2 separate regions of the Homo sapiens genome follow, and region 1 is linked to region 2. Evidence: promoter capture Hi-C in 16 types of primary human blood cells and fetal thymus (Javierre and others, 2016). All regions are on one chromosome and are shown on one strand. Each heading gives the region's core, a stretch centred on a gene start or on the middle of the fragment in contact. The rest is flanking DNA. Distances are from core to core; before and after follow the strand shown.

Region 1 (4,761 bases), core at 2,114-4,613, 3.1 Mb after region 2:
CGTTTTTCTAGAAATTTGCTAGGAAGTTACATGTGTAATTTTTGAGTTGGGTATCTCTATGAGAAGTGGCTAATTGGAAACCTTCCAAAAGTGGTAAAATAAATAGCTGGGCTAGCTAAGGTAGTTTGTTAGAATATAAAATATGAAACTGAGTATCTGTTTTTGTCATCAGAAGTGGGACATTTAGGAAAGGGCAGTTGTTTTCCTGTAACAGTTTTAGTAAATATGAAAATAACCCACAATGTGGGAAGAAAACTTTGTAGACAAGCAATTAAGAAAATATTCAATAATACATTTTAATCCGATTTTCAAGTATGCTAACATTTTAGAAAATAAACGACGAAAATGGGATTAGGGCAACTGTATTTTATATCTTTGAAGCCTGAAATAGATTTGTAATTACTTCACTAATCATCACATTTTTCTAAAGCTGATGGAACAACAGCATGTAACTCTTTTGCTTTACTTTGTACTGGACCAGGCTCTCAGTGTTAAATTTTTGGAAAAAAATCATGAGTAGTGGAACATATATAATGATAATATTATATGCATTACATGAAAATAATCATAAAGAGACTGTTATGTGGCTTTCAAGGTCAGAACTTTACAAATAAATACTAAATATATGTATTGAAGTTTTCAGTGTTTACTGACAATTTTCCTAAATCTTCAGAGCCTCTGAGGTCAGTAACTTTTTCAGTTCATTAGTCATTTAATCAGTCATTAGACTGAGAAGGCAAGTTTATGCAAATCTTCTGGTTGTTTTTTGAGATGGAGTCTTGCACCGTCGCCCAGACTGGAGTGCAGTGGGGCGGCTCACTCACTGCAAGCTCCACCTCCCGGGTTCACGCCATTCTCCTGCCTCAGCCTCCCGAGTAGCTGGGCCTACAGGCACCTGCCACCACGCCAGGCTAATTTTTTGTATTTTTAATAGAGATGGGGTTTCACCGTGTTAGCCAGGATGGTCTTGATCTCCTGACCTCGTGATCCACCCGCCTCGGCCTCCCAAAGTGCTGGGATTACAGGCATGAGCCACCGCGCCCGGCTGCAAATCTTCTGTATTTTAATCATAACCATGTCCACTATATATTCCTTCGGATAACTAAAAATTAAAATATTTGGTGTATTATTTGCAAGGAGTCAAAGATGATGTCTTTTCCCAGAGGCATGAACCTTAGAAATGCTTTCGATGGGGATGTTTCTGTAACACTGTGTTATTCTGGATCTTCAAATAATAGCAAAGCCAGTTACTCTAAATGTAAAATTTTTCTATTCCCAAGGTTCACTTTTGTTTGGTAGGTTTTCACGATTTTAAATACTGTTTAATGGAAGAAAAATACGTAGCCAGGCGTGGTGGCTCACACCTGTAGCCCCGGAACTTTGGGAGACTGAAGCAGGCAGATCACGAGGTCAGGAGATTGAGACCATCCTGGCCAACAAGGTGAAACCCTGTCTCTACTAAAAATACAAAAATTAGCTGGGCGTGGTGGTGCACGCCTGCAGTCCCAGCTACTTGGGAGGCTGAGGCAGGAGAATTGCTTGAACCCGGGAGGTGGAGGTTGCAGTGAGCTGAGATCACGCAGTTGTACTCCAGCCTGGTGACAGAGTGAGACTCTTTCTCAAAAAAAAAAAAAGTGTGTGTGTGTGTGTAGAGAGTTTGTGTGTGTGTGTGTGTGTGTAGAGAGTTTATGTGTGTGTGTGTGTGTGTGTGTGTGTGTGTGGAGAGAGAGTTTATTTGGGCCAAAATAGAGGACTGCAACCTGGGAAACACATATTCAAGTTGCCCTGAATATATGTTCCCAAGTTCAAGAAACTTGAAACTTGTTTCTTTCTGATATTTTCCACCTATTTGGACCAAATAATGAGCTGTGTTTATTTTGTAATTACAAAATTTGCTTATATAAAACTACAGAGGAAAACATTTTTATTTGGGGCAACAATGAACTGCTTTTATAAATTAATTTAAAATATGGTTAATATGGTTATTCTCCCCACACCCTAACTATACACCTGTATTCACTTGACATGAACAAACTGCTTTGTGTTTGGGATTCAGGTAAAAGGTGATTTTTGCATTTTCTAGTAATAGTTTAGAAATCTTTTCATGTCAGCATCTTGAAATCTACCTCATTATTTATTTATTTATTTATTTATTTGGGAGACAGAGTCTCGCTCTGTCTCACCCAGGCTGGAGTGCAGTGGTGCGATCATGGCTCACTGCAGCCTCAACCTCCCAGACTCAAGCGATCATCCCACCTTAGCCTCTGGAGTAGCTAGGACCACAGGTGCATGCTACCACTCCCGGCTAATTTTTGTATTTTTTGTAGAGATGAGTTTTGCCATGTTGCCTAGGCTGGTCTCGAACTTCTGGGCTCAAACAATCCACCTGCCTTGGCCTCCTAAAGTGCTGGAATTATAAGCATGAGCCACTGTGCCCAGCCTAATTTTTTTCATAATTTACTTTTTCTCTGGAGCATAGATTCAAAATGCCCTGAATATATGCTCTCTACTTCATTCTTTTAATAACTATACAGTTTGCTAATGTTACGCTGGAGTATCCCAGTGCTTAAAAATATAATACACTTGGCTGGGTGCAGTGGCTCACGCCCGTAATCCCAGCACTTTGGTAGGCCAAGGTAGGAGGACAGCTTGAATCCAGGAGTTGGAGACCAGCCTGGACAACAAAGTGAGACCTGTATCTACAAAAAATGTCAAATTTTTTTTTTTGAGACAGAGTCTCACTCTGTCGCCCAGGCTGGACTCACTGCAATCTCCGCCTCACGGGTTCACGTGATTGCAGTTTTAGTAGAGACAGGGTTTCACTATGTTGGCCAGGCTGGTCTCGAATTCCTGACCTGAAGTGATCCACCCACCTTGGCCTCCCAAAGTGCTGGAATTACAGGCGTTAGCTGCCACACCAGGCCCCAAAAATGTAAAAATTAGCTGGGCATTATGGCATGCACCTGTAGTCCCAGGTACCCAGGCACTTGGGGGCACAGGTGGAGGATTGCTTGAGCCAGGGAGGTCAAGGCTGCAGGGGGCTATGAGTGTGCGACTGCATTCCAGCCTGGGCAACAAAGTGAGACCCTGTCTCAAGGCAAAAAAAAGAAAAAAAGGGGGGCGGGGGCTGGGTGTGGTGGTGGCTCACGCCTGTAATCCCAGCACTTTGGGAGGCCAAAGCAGGTGGATCACTTGAGTGCAGAAGTTTGAGGCCAGCCTGTGCAACAGGGCAAAACCCTGTCTCTACAAAAAAATGCAAAACTTAGCCGAGAGTGGTGGCATGTTCTGTGGTCCCAGCTACTGTAGAGGCTGAGGCGGGAGGATCACTTGAGCCTGGGAGGTCAAGGCTGCAGCGAGCCGTGATTATGCCACTGCACTCCAGCCTGGGAGACAGAGCAAGACTCTGTCTCAAAAACAAAATCAAACAAAAAAACACACCACTTATTTGAAATAAAATACTGTAATTGGCTCTTACCTGCCCAAGAACTAAAAGGTCACACAAAATTTGAATAGATCTTTTCATGTATATTTCTTAGCCACCTCATTAGGAAATGTTTTAAAGCTGAATTATATTTTGTATCTGGGATCCCATTTATAGCCCTAGAGATGATGTTATTCTTCTGAAATACTAAAAGAGGCCAGCTGTGGTTGCTCACACCTGTAATCCCAGCCCTTTGGGAGGCCAGGGCAGGTGGATAGCTTGAGGTCAGGAGTTCAAGACCAGTCTGGCCAACATGGTAAAACCCCATCTCTACCAAAAATACAAAAATTAGTCCGGCATGGTGGCAGTCGCCTGTAATCCCAGCTACTCGGTAGTCTGGGGCAGGAGAATTGCTTGAACCTGGGAGGCGGAGGTTGCAGTGAGCCGAGATTGCACCACTGCACTCCAGCCTGGGCAACAGAGTGAGACTATGTCTCAAAAAAACAAAACAAAAGAAACAAAAAAAGAAAGAAAAATACTAAAAGGTCAGGTTTAATAGACAGAAAAAGTACCAAGACCTCTTTCTTTTAGGTTCTTTTTCTATACGTTTATGTTTGTTCTCAGTACAACTCTTATTGCTCTGTACAATACCAAACTTAAATTTTTCTAAGACAGCTCATAGGAATAACATTAAAATAAACATTTTAAAAAGTGTAACCCTGAACAATGTGAGAATTTTTGTGAGCTGCTTTGAGATACAACTGTTGTCAAGTGGGACTTATTAGGCAGAATATTTTTTCCCTTTTTATTTTAGGAAAGGTTATTTGTCAATGAAGAAAATGTTAATGAGTTTCTTGAAGAGGTCCTGAGCTCTCCATTCAAACAGTCTATGTCCTTGACCCCACCATTAATTGAAGTTCTTCAAGTTACTGATAATAAGATTCAAATTAATGCAAAGGTAAGGAAGTTGATGGGCTCTATAGAGGAGTAATGAAGCACAGAGTTAAAACCTAACAAATTATTGATTTCTTAATATCATAACTTTAAACAAAATTTACATAATGGTTGGGCAGAGTGATGTTAAGAGAAGAAAAGTTTTTCTTTTTTTTTTTTTTGAGATGGAGTCTCCCTCTGTCACCCAGGCTGAAGTGCAGTAGCGCGATCTCATCTCACTGCAACCTCCGCCTCCTGGGTTCAAGCGATTCTCCTGCCTCAGCCTCCCAAGTAGCTGGGACTACAGGAGCATGCTACCATGCCTGGCTAATTTTTTGTATTTTTAGTAGAGATTGGGTGTCACCGTGTTAGCCAGGATGGTCTCGATCTCCTGACCTCATGATCCA
Region 2 (4,603 bases), core at 1,125-3,624:
GCACTTTGGGAGGCCAAGCCAGGCGGATCACAAGGTCAGGAGTTTGAGACCATCCTGGCCAACATGGTGAAACCCCGTCTCTACTAAAAATACAAAAAAATTAGCCCGGTGTGGTAGCGGGTGCCTGCAGTCCCAGCTACTCGGGAGGCTGAGGCGGGAGAATGGCGTGAACACGGGAGGCAGAGCTTGCAGTGAGCCCAGATCGCACCACTGCAAGATCATTCCAGCCTGGGCGACAGAGTGAGACTCTGTCTCAAAAAAAAAAAAAAAAAAGCTGGGCCTGGCGGTGCGCGCCTGTAATCCCCAGCTACTCAGGAGGCTTAGGCAGGAGAACTGTTTGAACCGGGACCCGAGGCAGAGGCTGCGGTGGGCTGAGACAGCGCCACTGCACTCCAGCCTGGGGCAACAAGAGTGAAACTCTGTGTCAAAAAAAAAAAAAAAAAAAAAACCATGAGTATATTCTTGGGCCAGGTGCAGTGGCTCACACCTGTAATCCCAACACTTTCGGAGGACAAGGCGGGAGGATCTTGAGGCCAAGAGTTCGAGACCAGCCTGGAGAAAAAACCCATCGCTACAAAAAAAAAAAAAAAGAAAAATTAGCCCGGCATGGTCCCAGCTACTCCAGAGGCTGAGGTGAAAGGATGGCTTGAGCATGGGAGTTCGAGACTGCAGTGAACCGAGATCACACCACTGCACTACATTTTGCAACAGTGATAGTCACAAACAAAGTCTCTACTCTTAAAACAAATGTAATTGTCAAGCATCAATACCACAAGAGAGCCCTCCAAACAAAAATGTGAACCTAGGCCGGGCGCGGTGGCTCATACCTGCAATTTCAGCACTTTGGGAGGCCGAGTCGGGCGGATCACAAGGTCAGGAGATCGAGACCACCCTGGCCAAAATGGTGAAACCCGTCTCCCCTAAAAACACAAAAATTAGCTGGGCGTGGTGGTGCGCGCCTGTAGTTCCAGCTACTCAGGAGGCTGAGGCAGGAGAATCGCTTGAACCCGGAAGGCGGAGGTTGCAGTGAGCCGAGATCGCGCCACATTGCACTCCAGCCTGGCGACAGAGCAAGACTCCGTCTCAAAAAAAAAAAAAAAAAAAAAGTGAACCTCCAATGAAGATATTCAATAGAATAAATATTCGGAATAAATTGAATGGTCTCCTAAAAATAGGGCTTTATTTTTCCCAACTACTTTAAAGGTATTTTTAACTAGCGATGTTAGATTTTCTTTCTTAATCCTACTAAAGTATAGCTGAGTATCTTCGTCTTGTTAATTTAGCCTCCAGAAAATTCTAATTTAGTAGTCTGCAATGCCGTAAAATGTTAAACTAGCAACAGATGAAAAAAAATCCGAGTAGAAACAGCAGGCAGGGATCTAAGGTGGAGTAAAAATAGCCACAAATTAGAAACCAGGAGAAAAGGTATATAGTATTTTACTTTCAATATTAATTTTCCTCCAAAGGTCAAGATTTCTGATTAAGAGTTCTCAGATTAAGATGAGCTAGCTTTGAGACACTTTGTTGTGCGGGTCATAGCTTTGTCTAAAAACAAACAAAAAACTTTGGGAAACTTTTCGAAGGCGCGCTTCCAAACTTCAGGCGCCGAGTCTATTTCACATGTGGGGCCATGTGTCCCACAAGTGAATCGTTTACACCACAGATATTCCTCAAAAGGAGACTAAACCAACTTCGCTCTCTTGTTACTTTGACAATAAAAGAGGAACCTTACTCCAGGTCAGTCCTGGATGCCAAGCCTAGGGACTAAGGGATTGCTTTTCCTCTTCTCAAATGTAAGTACACCAGACGCTGCCCCTCCGCGGGGTCTGGAGAGGACGAGCAACTCAGTGGGGATTGGAGCCGACCGCTCGGCTTCAGAGGTCCCGGGACGCCCTTAGGAGGCAGGGCGCCCGTACAGGTGGCGGCTAAGACGGTTGGGGACTGGGGTCGCCCCTCGGCCGGAGCCACAGGGAGAGGCCTGTGCGTGGCAGCCACGGGAGCGACTCACCTCGGCGTCTTCCTTGCACTGTGGAAGGGAAGGGAACTCCAGCTTCACGTCCTCCATGGTGCTGGCCCGCGGGCTGGTGGGTGGGGTGGGAGAGTGTTACACAGCCGGCCGACCCTCGGGCTGGCTGCGGCGGCGGAAGGAAGGAGGGCCGGCGGAGCGGAGGGCTGACAGGAGGGCGGCGGGATTACAACTAACACACGCAGACTACAGGGTCCCAGTGACTCCAGCAGCGGCGGCGGCGAAGACAGGGAAGAGGAGGGTCGGGCGTCTTACACCCGGCCGCCATGCCGCTGCCGTCTCCCTCCCCCAGAGTCTCCGTACCCCTCAGGCCGCCCAGGATCCAGCACAGGAACCAGCCCGACAACCGTCTCCCCGCCTCCTTCCCGCCCCCTCCACCCGCGTCGCCTCAGCCAATCCCAGCCCACGCTCGCCTTCTGCCCGCCCTCCGCCGCCGCCAGGTGTCAGCGCGCCACCGCCCTGCTCCGCCCCTTCGCTAGAGCGCAGACGCTTGGGGGTGGGGGGGGCGGAGCCTCGGATGCTGCTAGGCCACAGCTCACCCGGCGTGGAGGAGGCGGGGCTGCGGTGGGACAGGACGAGTGAAGGTCCTGGGAAAGGCAGTGGGGCGGTCCGAGCCAGCTCCGCCCTTTCCAGACAGGACGTAGAGCCCTTCTTTAACATAAGAACAAACAGGCAAAACAGGCTACCCACCAGTGGCATCCGAAAGGAAAGCTATAGTTTCTCCCCTCTCAAAATTCTGCGCAATCTATGCTGAGTTTATAACCAAATGACTAATAAATGAAGAGTTCAATTTAAAATCACGTGGTGCCATACAGAAAATAAAATACCCATCACCTTTAAGCAAAGAATTAAACGGCTCAATTTAAAATTTTTTAAAGTATTTTAAGAGTACTTGAAAATACAACTCAGTTTAGATTACCTAGAAAATATCAAGAATGGCAACTAGAAAAAAATCAGAAAAAGGAACTGATAGCTGACTCAGTAAATTGTATATAATACTGTAAAATTTCTTCCATTATTATATTTTGAAATAAAAATAATAAACCAGATGGCTTTCAATATCTTTTAAAAGGAGTTTGCCAGCCTGAGCAAAATAGTAAGACCCCCCTCTCTAAAAAACAATTTTAAAATTCCCTGGGTGTGGTGGCGTTATGCCTGTAAACCCATGGTGAAAAGATTTGGGCCGGGCGCGGAGGCTCACGCCTGTAATCCCAGCACTTTGGGCGGCTGAGGCGTGTGGATCACCTGAGGTCGGGAGTTTGAGACCAGCCTGACCAACATGGAGAAACCCCGTCTCTACTAAAAATACAAAAATTAGCTGGGTGTGGTGGCGCATGCCAGTAATCGCAGCTACTTAGAAGGCTGAGGCAGGAGAACCGCTTAAATCCGGGAGGCGGAGGTTGCAATGAGCTGAGATAGTGCAATGGCACTACAGCCTGGGCAACAAGAGCGAAACTCCATCTCAAAAAAAATCAAAAATAAAAAAAGAAAGAAAGGATTTGTACACCAAATTGATTCTTTAAAAAACCACCGCCAGCACAAAGGTAAAAGGCAAGATAGTCACTCCTTAACTAAATGCAAATTATAAGTGAAAAGATCACATAGATATTTGACTTAAACCTCCCCCTACATTCTACTTTTTGTCACATAAAATGCACTGCCAACACATAGAAATAGAACTGTACAATAATTTGAGTATGAGATGGCTAACTTGACCACTCCATTTTCTATTTTAACTGTTCATCTTCTAAAATTATAAAAAGGCACATAATATCCTGCTAGGAAGTTTTTAATTTGAAGAATTATTGTATAATTAGCTAGGTCATGTATTTTTGGTTCTTTAGTGTTTATGAAACTGAAGTTGTCTTTTCTTTTCACCAGCATCTTTAATAATTATTGATGCCCAATGATGATTCCTTTGTGTACTTTGTTATAGCTTTTATTGCCAGATGATATAAGAATCATGTATAGGTAACAGAAATCATGTTTTGAACATTTCTGACACTCCTACATCCCCTACATCATACACTCTTAGCCAGGTATCCATACATACCTAAAGAGTCCTTGGATGAGCTTGGGAAACAATAAATTTCCTGAAATTATAGTATACGCAAAATTGTATGTTAGAATTTTTCCTGGAAGAGGGTCCAGACCTCCACATCCTCAACAGGGACCTATCGTCTTACATAAACCAAGAAAACCCAGTCACATATTAGCAAATATTACGTTGAATCATACTCTTTAAAAAGTTATGGATGTGCATGTATATTTTCAATTAACCAACAATGAGCTTAATCACAGTAGATGAAGAATATGTAAACACTTTCTGAAAGGAGGAGTACAGACATACCCACACATCCATGTTTTATTTAAGAAGATGATCTTATGAACATTAAGTATGTGTACTATTTTAAAATAATATTCAAAAATCCACAATCCATCTGGGTTATCAAATAGTTTACTTGCTAAAGAACCTAAAGGACCACAGTAAATATACTCAGAAAAGACAAGAATATATATGTAGGAGAACTGAATCAAACAGATTTTATTCAACTTTTTAGATGAGGAAAACAAATG

Evidence for each region. Contacts are between HindIII fragments. The CHiCAGO score rates a contact against its expected background, and 5 or more counts as called.
Region 1: a fragment that was not itself captured here is called in contact with the fragment with the promoter of STYX in region 2 in 1 of 17 cell types (neutrophils); the score reaches 8.8 in neutrophils.

Annotation. Positions count from the first base shown.
Region 1 is chr14:49,627,630-49,632,390 of GRCh38, reverse strand. It overlaps DNAAF2 (dynein axonemal assembly factor 2), which reads left to right. Exons shown (of 3, transcript NM_018139.3): 2 at 4,236-4,379. Among named protein-coding and RNA genes, the nearest start is that of DNAAF2, 5.2 kb to the left of the region's middle. RefSeq lists an enhancer at 634-743. The HindIII fragment of the contact is 7,948 bases long and covers 1-4,761 here.
Region 2 is chr14:52,727,937-52,732,539 of GRCh38, reverse strand. STYX (serine/threonine/tyrosine interacting protein) reads right to left here and starts at 2,374. Exons shown (of 11, transcript NM_145251.4): 1 at 2,009-2,374. The coding sequence starts at 2,065. PSMC6 (proteasome 26S subunit, ATPase 6) reads right to left here. Exons shown (of 14, transcript NM_002806.5): 14 at 3,950-4,603. RefSeq lists silencers at 2,080-2,159, 2,230-2,689. The HindIII fragment of the contact is 7,384 bases long and covers 1-4,603 here.